3 separate regions of the Homo sapiens genome follow, and all the other regions are linked to region 3. The links are contacts of gene promoters, found by promoter capture Hi-C in blood cells and fetal thymus (Javierre and others, 2016). All regions are on one chromosome and are shown on one strand. Each heading gives the region's core, a stretch centred on a gene start or on the middle of the fragment in contact. The rest is flanking DNA. Distances are from core to core; before and after follow the strand shown. Region 1 overlaps LOC124904413 (a long non-coding RNA gene). Region 2 overlaps LOC124904413 (a long non-coding RNA gene). Region 3 holds the start of SF3B4 (splicing factor 3b subunit 4).

Region 1 (2,700 bases), core at 142-2,641, 120 kb before region 3:
GAATCACCAAGAACAGGCTCTGTAACACTGGGAGCTGGCATACTGAGTAATTGTTATGTGAATGAGGGAAAATGCATTGTTTTGGCTAAAATAGATTGCAAAATGCTTGTTTAGTGTTGGATTTAGCCTGTTTATGGCTTTAAATTTATTGAGTCACTGCATGAGTTTGCTGTTACATTATTTTTTCATTTCTTAAAGACTAGATAAAAGTAATTGCTGTAAGATTCAAATCAACAGGTGTTCTGGACTTGGAAGATTTGTTGAATTACTATGAAGTCACATCTAAAGTTTGAAAGGTGAGAATCTGATTATGATTTCCATTCATGTCTGACTGCAATTGACAGTAGTGTATCTGTCACTATGAATATATATATGTGTTAGGCCATGTGCTAAGTACTTTCTGTGCATTTTTCTCACAACTCAAAGACATAAGTAGTAGTGCTATCTTCTTTTTATTGTTTAAATTTTATTCATTTATTTCTTTTATTTATTTTTACTTGATTTCCTGGGATATGAGAGATAAATATTTATTTTTAATTGGCAAAAATTGTAATATTTATCATGTAAAGCATGCTTTTTTTTTTGAGACAGGGTCTCCCTGGATTGCCCAGGCTAGAGTACAGTGGCGCAATCATGGCTCACTGCAGCCTTGACCTCCCTGGTTCAAGTGACCCTCCAGCCTCTACTGGCACGTAACACCATGCCTGGAGAATTTTTTTAAAAGTTTTGTACAGATGGGGGTCTCACTGTTCTGCCTAGGCTGGTCTTGAATTCCTGGGCTCATGCTACCTTCCTGCCTCAGCCTCCCAAAGTGTTGGGATGACAGGAATGAGCCATTACACCTGGCCTCATGTACAACATATTTTGAAACAATAACCTTTCTTTTTTAAAAATGAGAAAATAGGGCTGGGCACGGTGGTTCATTTGTGTCATTCCAGCACTTTGGGAAGCCAAGGCGGAGCCCAGTAGTTCAAGACCAGCCTGAGCACATGGTAAAACCCATCTCTATAAAAAATACAGAAATTAATTGCGTGGTGGTTTGCACCTGTGGTCCTAGCTACTCGGGAGGCTGAGGCAGGGGGATTGCTTGAGCCCAGGAGGTCGAGCCTGTAATCAGCCTGTCTCAAAAAAAAAAAAAAAAAAAGAAAGAGAGAGAGAGAGAAGGAAAATAAAAGCTTAGAGACATTAAGATAATGTCCCCTAATAAGTGACAAAACTGAGATTTGAACTTGGGGATGTGAACACCGGAATCCATGCCTATGCCCAGAAAATTATACTGTAAATGACAATTTCCTCTGTTCATGGCACAAAATATACAAGTCATAGTGAATTGGGGTTTTTTCTGCTTCAATTTTCAGTTATTATTAAAAGTATATAGCAACATCCTGACTAACCACGATTTAATTTAGGAATAATATTGGGAAGTTAGACTTTTTTATTTCCTGGTGATATAGTAGTTTCAACTCAGATATAGAGAATAATTTAATTCCTGGTCAAGAGAACACTCAAATTTAGAGAGCAGCATGACAGAATGAAAAGAACATTGAATTGAGAACCAGGTAATCTGATTTATAGTGTATTTTACTACTACTGTCTGGAAAAGCTTCAGAACTGATTTAAGTTTACTAGACCTCTAAGTAGACGGGGCATGGTGGCTCACACCTGTAATCCCAGCACTTTGGGAGGCTGAGGCAGACGGATCACTTGAGGTCAGGAGTTCGAGACCAGCCTGGCCAACATGGTGAAACCTCATCTCTACTGAAAAAAAAATACAAAAATTAGCCGAGTGTGGTGGCGGGCGCCTGTAATCCTAGCCACTCAGGAGGCGGAGGCAGGAGAATTGCTTGAACCAGTGAGGCAGAGGTTGCCGTGAGCTGAGATCATGCCACTGAACTCCAGCCTGGGTGACAGGGTGAGACTCCGTCTCAAATTTTTTTTTTAATGAAACAAAATAAGAAAATAGACTAGGAAACTTGAGTTATTAATCTATGAGTTTTATGTTTTGTACATGGAAATCATTTTCTTTGTTTATATCCACATACTGTGTATGTCTTGTTTAATTTCTGGAAGTAGTGTATTAATACAATTTTTTTTTTTAAGAGTCAAGGTCTTACTCTCTTCCCCAGGCTGGTGTGCAGTGGTACAATCATAGTTCACTGCAGCCTTGAACTCTTGGGCTCAAGCAATCCTTTCACTGTGCTAATTTTATTTATTTATTTTGTGTAGAGATCGGGTCTCACTATTTTGCCCACGCTGGTCTTGAACTCCTGTCCTCAAGCAGGATATCCTCCTGCCTTGGCCTCCCAAAGTTCTGGGATTACAGGTATGAGCCACTACACTCAGCCTTATTAATATAAATCTAATAATATTATGTCTCTGTGTTAGCAATGGTATGAAACCCCCCAAATGGTGTTAGATCCAGAGTCATTTGTCTCTGACATTTCTTAGGAAATGTTTTTCCTTTCTATCGATGAATGGGTTCCTACGGATAGCTTGTTCATTCTCTCTTTAATTTTGGTTAAAGCATTTCCGAAAGTGGGAGGATACGTCTCCTTTCTTTAACTTCTGGTGGAAGGGTGTGGAATTTATCAAAAATATGAGGGAAGACTGCATAAATGTAGGGGCAGAGTATTTATATTAACATTACCTTGTTTTCTTCTGTGGGATATTTAGGAACTATTTTTTTTTCTGGAAGTAGTG
Region 2 (2,700 bases), core at 116-2,615, 110 kb before region 3:
GCAGCTAGCAGAAACTATGTGTGTGTGATATCTATAGGGCTGTCATCTACATCTAACTTAAAGTGCTTATGTGAGTAATTTTTGAGTTCTAACTGCAGGTATGGTGCTGGTTATGACCCTAATAGGCAGCAATGGACATGTGTTTATTATTATATTGGAGCAGACTTTGCCTTAGTTCCCTAATCTAGAATTGATCCCAATACCTTTAATCATATCCCACAGACTTATTAGGGCCAAACTATGTATATGAAAGTCTTTTGAGAAATTAAAAGTACTAAATGAAACAGATTTATTAGTAATAACTGCTTAGAGACATTCTAATGTCATGGTTTTGGAGTTAAACTAGCTTGGGCTTGAATCCTGGCTTTGCCACTTATCATGTAACTTTAAACAAGTCTCCTTAACCTGTGTGATCCTCAGTGTTGTCCATTATAATTCTTAAAATAATATTATTAGGCTGGGTGCGGTGGCTCACGCCTGTAATCCCAGCACTTTGGGAGGCTGAGGTGGGCGGATCATAAGGTCAAGAGATTGAGTCCATCCTGGCCAACATGGTGAAACCTGGTCTCTACTAAAAATACAAAAATTAGCTGGGTGTGGTGGCGCACACCTGTAGTCCCAGCTACTTGGGAGGCTGAGGCAGGAGAATCGCTTAAACCTGGGAGGTGGAGGTTGCAGTGAGCCAAGTTCGCGCCACTATACTCCAGTCTGGTGACAGCGAGATTCCATCTCAAAAAAAATTATTAATATGTATAGTACATACTAATATTGATAATATGTCATAATATTAGTATGTATTGTTGTGAGGATGAATGAAGGCAAAATGCTTGCTACGGTGCTTAAACATAGTAAAATGAGCAGTAGATGATAACTACTGTTACTGTTAACACTACATGGTAGAGATTAGCAGAGACTAAAAATATCCTATATTTTAACTCCTCTTTTTTACCACTGGCAAGTTCTTTGTGACATAAAGACACTGGATAATATTGAAGTGTTGATGTTAAGGATAATATTGATGGCTATAGTTAGGATTATTGCCTTCCTCCAACTATTTCACTTAGTTGTCTGGGCAGCAGGGAAAAGAATGAGTTTGGGAGGCTGGAGGGAAGAATATTTTGTCCTCAAAAGGCCATATTTAAAAGATGTATATTATTTTATTATTAGATTTTTTGGGCAAAAGTTTTAAAAGTGATAATACAGATATCAATAACGTCAGAAAAGTGGGCTGGTAGAAATGTACAGTAGTACAATTTTTTTATAAGGTAATTGAGCAATACATATTAAAGGTCTTAAACGCATTCAGACTTTGACCCAGCATTTTTATTTTTAGGAAAAGAGATGTAGAAAATAAGTATAACAAAGATTTATAGATGTTCTTCCCAGCATTATTTATAATAGTGGGTCAAAAAAAAGTTAAATGTCTAACAATGGAAACTGAGTAATTACAGAATGTCCTAGTCATGTAATAAGATAATATGCAGTTACTAAAAATTATGTTGGGGGTTAAAAACTCAAATGCCTTCAGTTGTTTAGCAAGTAAAGTATATGTGTGAAGACACTAGGGATTGGTGAGGACGGTGGTGAACTGGAGAGTTTATATTCCACGTGGAGGCATTAATTTACATTATAAAAGAATACTGTTTTGGCCAAGACACGATTAAATTCTATCCACAGGTTTACCAGTTTGAAACATCTACTGTTGAAGAATTTTAAAATGTGGGAAGATACTCATGGTATACTTTCTTCTTCTTCTTCTTCCTCCTCCTCCTCCTCCTCCTTCTTCTTCTTCTTATTCCTCTTCCTCCTCTTCTTCCTCTTCTTTTCTTCTTTTCTTCTTTTAACAGGATTTTGCTCTGTCGCCCAGGCTAGAGTACAGTGGCAAGATCATGTCTCACTGCAGCCTTAAACTCCTGGTCTCAATCAATCCTCCCACCTCAATTTACCAAGTAGCTAGGACTACAGGCATGCACCACCATACCTGGCTATTTTTTTTTTTTTTTTTTTTTCTGTAGACAGGTTCTTGCTATGTTGCCCAAGCTAGTCTCGGAACTCCTGGGCTCAAGCAGTCCTCCCAATTTAGCCGCCAAAAGTGCTGGACTACAGTCTTGAGCCACCATGCCTGGCCTCATGGTGTGCTTTTTTTTTTCTTTTATTTTTTTGAGACAGAATTTCGCTCTTATTGCCCAGGCTGGAGTGCAATGGCGGGATTTCGGCTCACTGCAACCTCCGCCTCCCGGGTTCAAGCGATTCTCCTGCCTCAGCCTCTTGAGTAGCTGGGATTACAGGTGTGTGCTACAATGCCCAGCTAATTTTTTGTATTTTTAGTAGAGACGGGGTTTCACCATGTTGGCCAGGCTGGTCTCGAACTCCTGACCTCAAGTGATCCACCCGCCTCAGCCTCCCAAAGTGCTGGGATTACAGGCATGAGCCACCGTGCCTGGCCTTATGGTGTGCTTTTAAGTGACAAAAGCAAATAAGAAAACATAGGTAAAGAATGGTTCCAATACTTTTTAAAGTATGTGTGTTTATAGTTATATCTCTTCTCTGTTGGTCTGTCTTATCTATCTGGAAGGATATTTGCCAAAACAATAATAGCAAATACTTAACATAGACCTTATTATGTGCCAGAGAGTGTTTTAAGCACTTCACATATGTTAGCTCATTTAATTCTCATAGCAATAATAGGTACTATCACTA
Region 3 (2,700 bases), core at 201-2,700:
ACGGAAATGGACACCAAGAATATCTCCTGAGGATCACTCCAAGAAAAGAGATCCACATACCATTCTCAATCCCACTGAAATTGCTGGCATTCTCAAAGGCAGGGCAGAGGGGGATCTGGGGTAGAGGAGGGTTCTGTCTAATCTTTTTTTTTTTTTTTTGTATCTGCACTTGCAGCCTCAGCTTTCACACTTCAGCCCTTAAGTTCACTAAGAAGGTCTGAGTTTCTGCTGCAGATAGTGGTGTTAACTGCTCCAACTCTTGTCTTGCTTAGTTTCTACAAATATTTTTGCTTCTTGTCATTTGAAGGATTAAGAAACAAAAACAATCCAGAAATTGATCGGTTTTTTTAGGCCAATCCCATCCCTTCTGGATAACCAGATGTTAAATCATGAGATCAGAGATGCTGTTCATCAGTCCCAACAAGATGGCCTAGAAATCGCATTCTCACCTCGCCTTGCTGCTGCTTTAATTCCAAGTTCTATTTCTTCCCTTATAGTTTTCTATGGGAATGAGGCGGATACAGGAAACACCCTATCTCCTCTGTATTTTTGTAGTGGAATTTCTATTTAAGGGGCTCATTAAAGCATAGTATTTATACACATTGCTGGCATTGTTTCTTGTGTTTGAATAAAGGATTCTCCTAGGTAGGAAAGTGGTGGGTAAAAGGGGTGTATGACCCAAGAGAGGAAGGCATCCACCATATTATTGCTAAGGAAATAGGGGAACTGGGTTTGGTGAGGCTCTGCAAAATTCAAGTGCAATTTGGGGAAAGGGTTCTCTTGTGTGTGTCTCCCATTTAGAGGCAGATGGGGCCAGAGTGTTCTAGAGATCCAGACTCTAGAGCTCCGATCCCATCCACCCCTCAGCTGTGGTCACACACCAACGCGGAGCAGCCCTCACCCTCCCCATGCAATTAGGACGAGGTGAGCGCAGACGTCACTCTAAGCTCAGACATTTCGCAGTCTCCTCCCCTGAGGGAAAACCAAATACCTCCAGCCCAAATCAGGGTTGTGAGGCCAAATCTGCAAGAAGGCTGCAGGCGAGAGGGAAGGCTCCCTCTGCGCCTGAAAGCCCCCAAGTCCTCGGGTTGGGGGGAACTCTTCAGCACATCCTTCTCTGGACAACAGAAGAAGAATCACTGTCCACAAAATATATTAAAACTGAAATTTTTGTTCTTTTAGCTTTCGAATTTACACTTTTGAGAGCAGTGTGATTCTTTCAAGTCTAGCAGTGCATTAAGAGGGCCTGAGCGTTTCCGTTCCGCCCTCCTCGCTAAGACAACTAGCAGCGGCACCTCAGGACGCGAGCCGAGGACTCTACCGCCCGACCCAGGTTAAGTTTCGGAGGCTCCTAAGATGGCTGCAGCCGCTTCCAGGCACCTCCTCTTCCGCGGCCCCGCCCACCGCTACGTCCGTCTTCGCCCCGGAAGTGGAAGTCGTGCTGAGGTCAGAAGGCGGAACCGCTGCTGGGAGACGGCGGGATCTCTTTCGCCATGGCTGCCGGGCCGATCTCCGAGCGGAATCAGGGTAACTGGAGGGGGAAAGTCTGGAATGGGCTCAGCGTGGCTAGGAGGCCCCGACTACAGCCAGCAGTGTCTCTGCAGGGGTGGGAGACTGGACTCCTCCCTTCCCCAGAGGGCGCGAGACCGGCCCTCTGCCTGTTGGGGGCGGGGTGGCCGGGTGCTGGCTGAGGCCTCTGGGTGTGATACTTAAGTCCGGTCCCCTGCTGACTTCTCACTCAAAAAATCAAAAAAACCCACTCACAATACTAAATTAGACTTCAGAGGATTCCCGAAGTCCTGGGAAGAGAGAAGTTTAAGGGTTTAAACTTTTTTTTTTGCTCCTGTCCCCTACCGCGGTCCCCAGTTCCCCTGGTTGGGTTCCATCTTCATGTTTCCATCACTTCCTTCCTTCCCGTTACACTCTCACGCTTGCTCTTTTTGCTCCCTCCCTTCAAGATGCCACTGTGTACGTGGGGGGCCTGGATGAGAAGGTTAGTGAACCGCTGCTGTGGGAACTGTTTCTCCAGGCTGGACCAGTAGTCAACACCCACATGCCAAAGGATAGAGTCACTGGCCAGCACCAAGGTGAGTACATGACAAGGGGCGAATTGCTCCCGGAGGGTCCCAGCAGTATTCACAACTGTTTTGGAATAACATGAGCAACCTAAAGATTTTTTTCTTTTAAGCCTCTCTTCAGTTTATTTCTGGAACCATTCTTAAGTAAAGTGATGTTGTTTCTTTCTTGTTCTTTGTGATTAGAGGGTAGATGAATTTTACCCCATTTTCAGTCTCTTTACTTACGTTGTTAACCTCCTCTTCTCCACTTTTCCAGGCTATGGCTTTGTGGAATTCTTGAGTGAGGAAGATGCTGACTATGCCATTAAGATCATGAACATGATCAAACTCTATGGGAAGCCAATACGGGTGAACAAAGCATCAGCTCACAACAAAAACCTGGATGTAGGGGCCAACATTTTCATTGGGAACCTGGACCCTGAGATTGATGAGAAGTTGCTTTATGATACTTTCAGCGCCTTTGGGGTCATCTTACAAACCCCCAAAATTATGCGGGACCCTGACACAGGCAACTCCAAAGGTTATGCCTTTATTAATTTTGCTTCATTTGATGCTTCGGATGCAGCAATTGAAGCCATGAATGGGCAGTACCTCTGTAACCGTCCTATCACCGTATCTTATG

Evidence for each region. Contacts are between HindIII fragments. The CHiCAGO score rates a contact against its expected background, and 5 or more counts as called.
Region 1: a fragment that was not itself captured here is called in contact with the fragment with the promoter of SF3B4 in region 3 in 7 of 17 cell types (erythroblasts, M1 macrophages, endothelial precursors and 4 more); the score reaches 9.8 in erythroblasts.
Region 2: a contact is called between a fragment that was not itself captured here and the fragment with the promoter of SF3B4 in region 3, in 2 of 17 cell types (M1 macrophages and erythroblasts). The highest score is 5.7, in M1 macrophages.

What each region holds. Positions count from the first base shown.
Region 1 is chr1:150,048,078-150,050,777 of GRCh38, reverse strand. LOC124904413 (a long non-coding RNA gene) reads right to left here. Exons shown (of 3, transcript XR_007066598.1): 2 at 2,648-2,700. It also overlaps a transcript of OTUD7B not described here. Among named protein-coding and RNA genes, the nearest start is that of VPS45, 18 kb to the left of the region's middle. The HindIII fragment of the contact is 428 bases long and covers 1,178-1,605 here.
Region 2 is chr1:150,031,775-150,034,474 of GRCh38, reverse strand. The region is part of intron 1 of LOC124904413 (a long non-coding RNA gene); the gene reads right to left. It also overlaps a transcript of OTUD7B not described here. Among named protein-coding and RNA genes, the nearest start is that of OTUD7B, 22 kb to the right of the region's middle. The HindIII fragment of the contact is 2,863 bases long and covers 1-2,700 here.
Region 3 is chr1:149,926,553-149,929,252 of GRCh38, reverse strand. SF3B4 (splicing factor 3b subunit 4) reads left to right here and starts at 1,450. Exons shown (of 6, transcript NM_005850.5): 1 at 1,450-1,527; 2 at 1,959-2,087; 3 at 2,335-2,700. The coding sequence starts at 1,494. MTMR11 (myotubularin related protein 11) reads left to right here. Exons shown (of 17, transcript NM_001145862.2): 17 at 1-602. The coding sequence ends at 124. RefSeq lists enhancers at 70-139, 1,274-1,653. The HindIII fragment of the contact is 3,542 bases long and covers 1-2,700 here.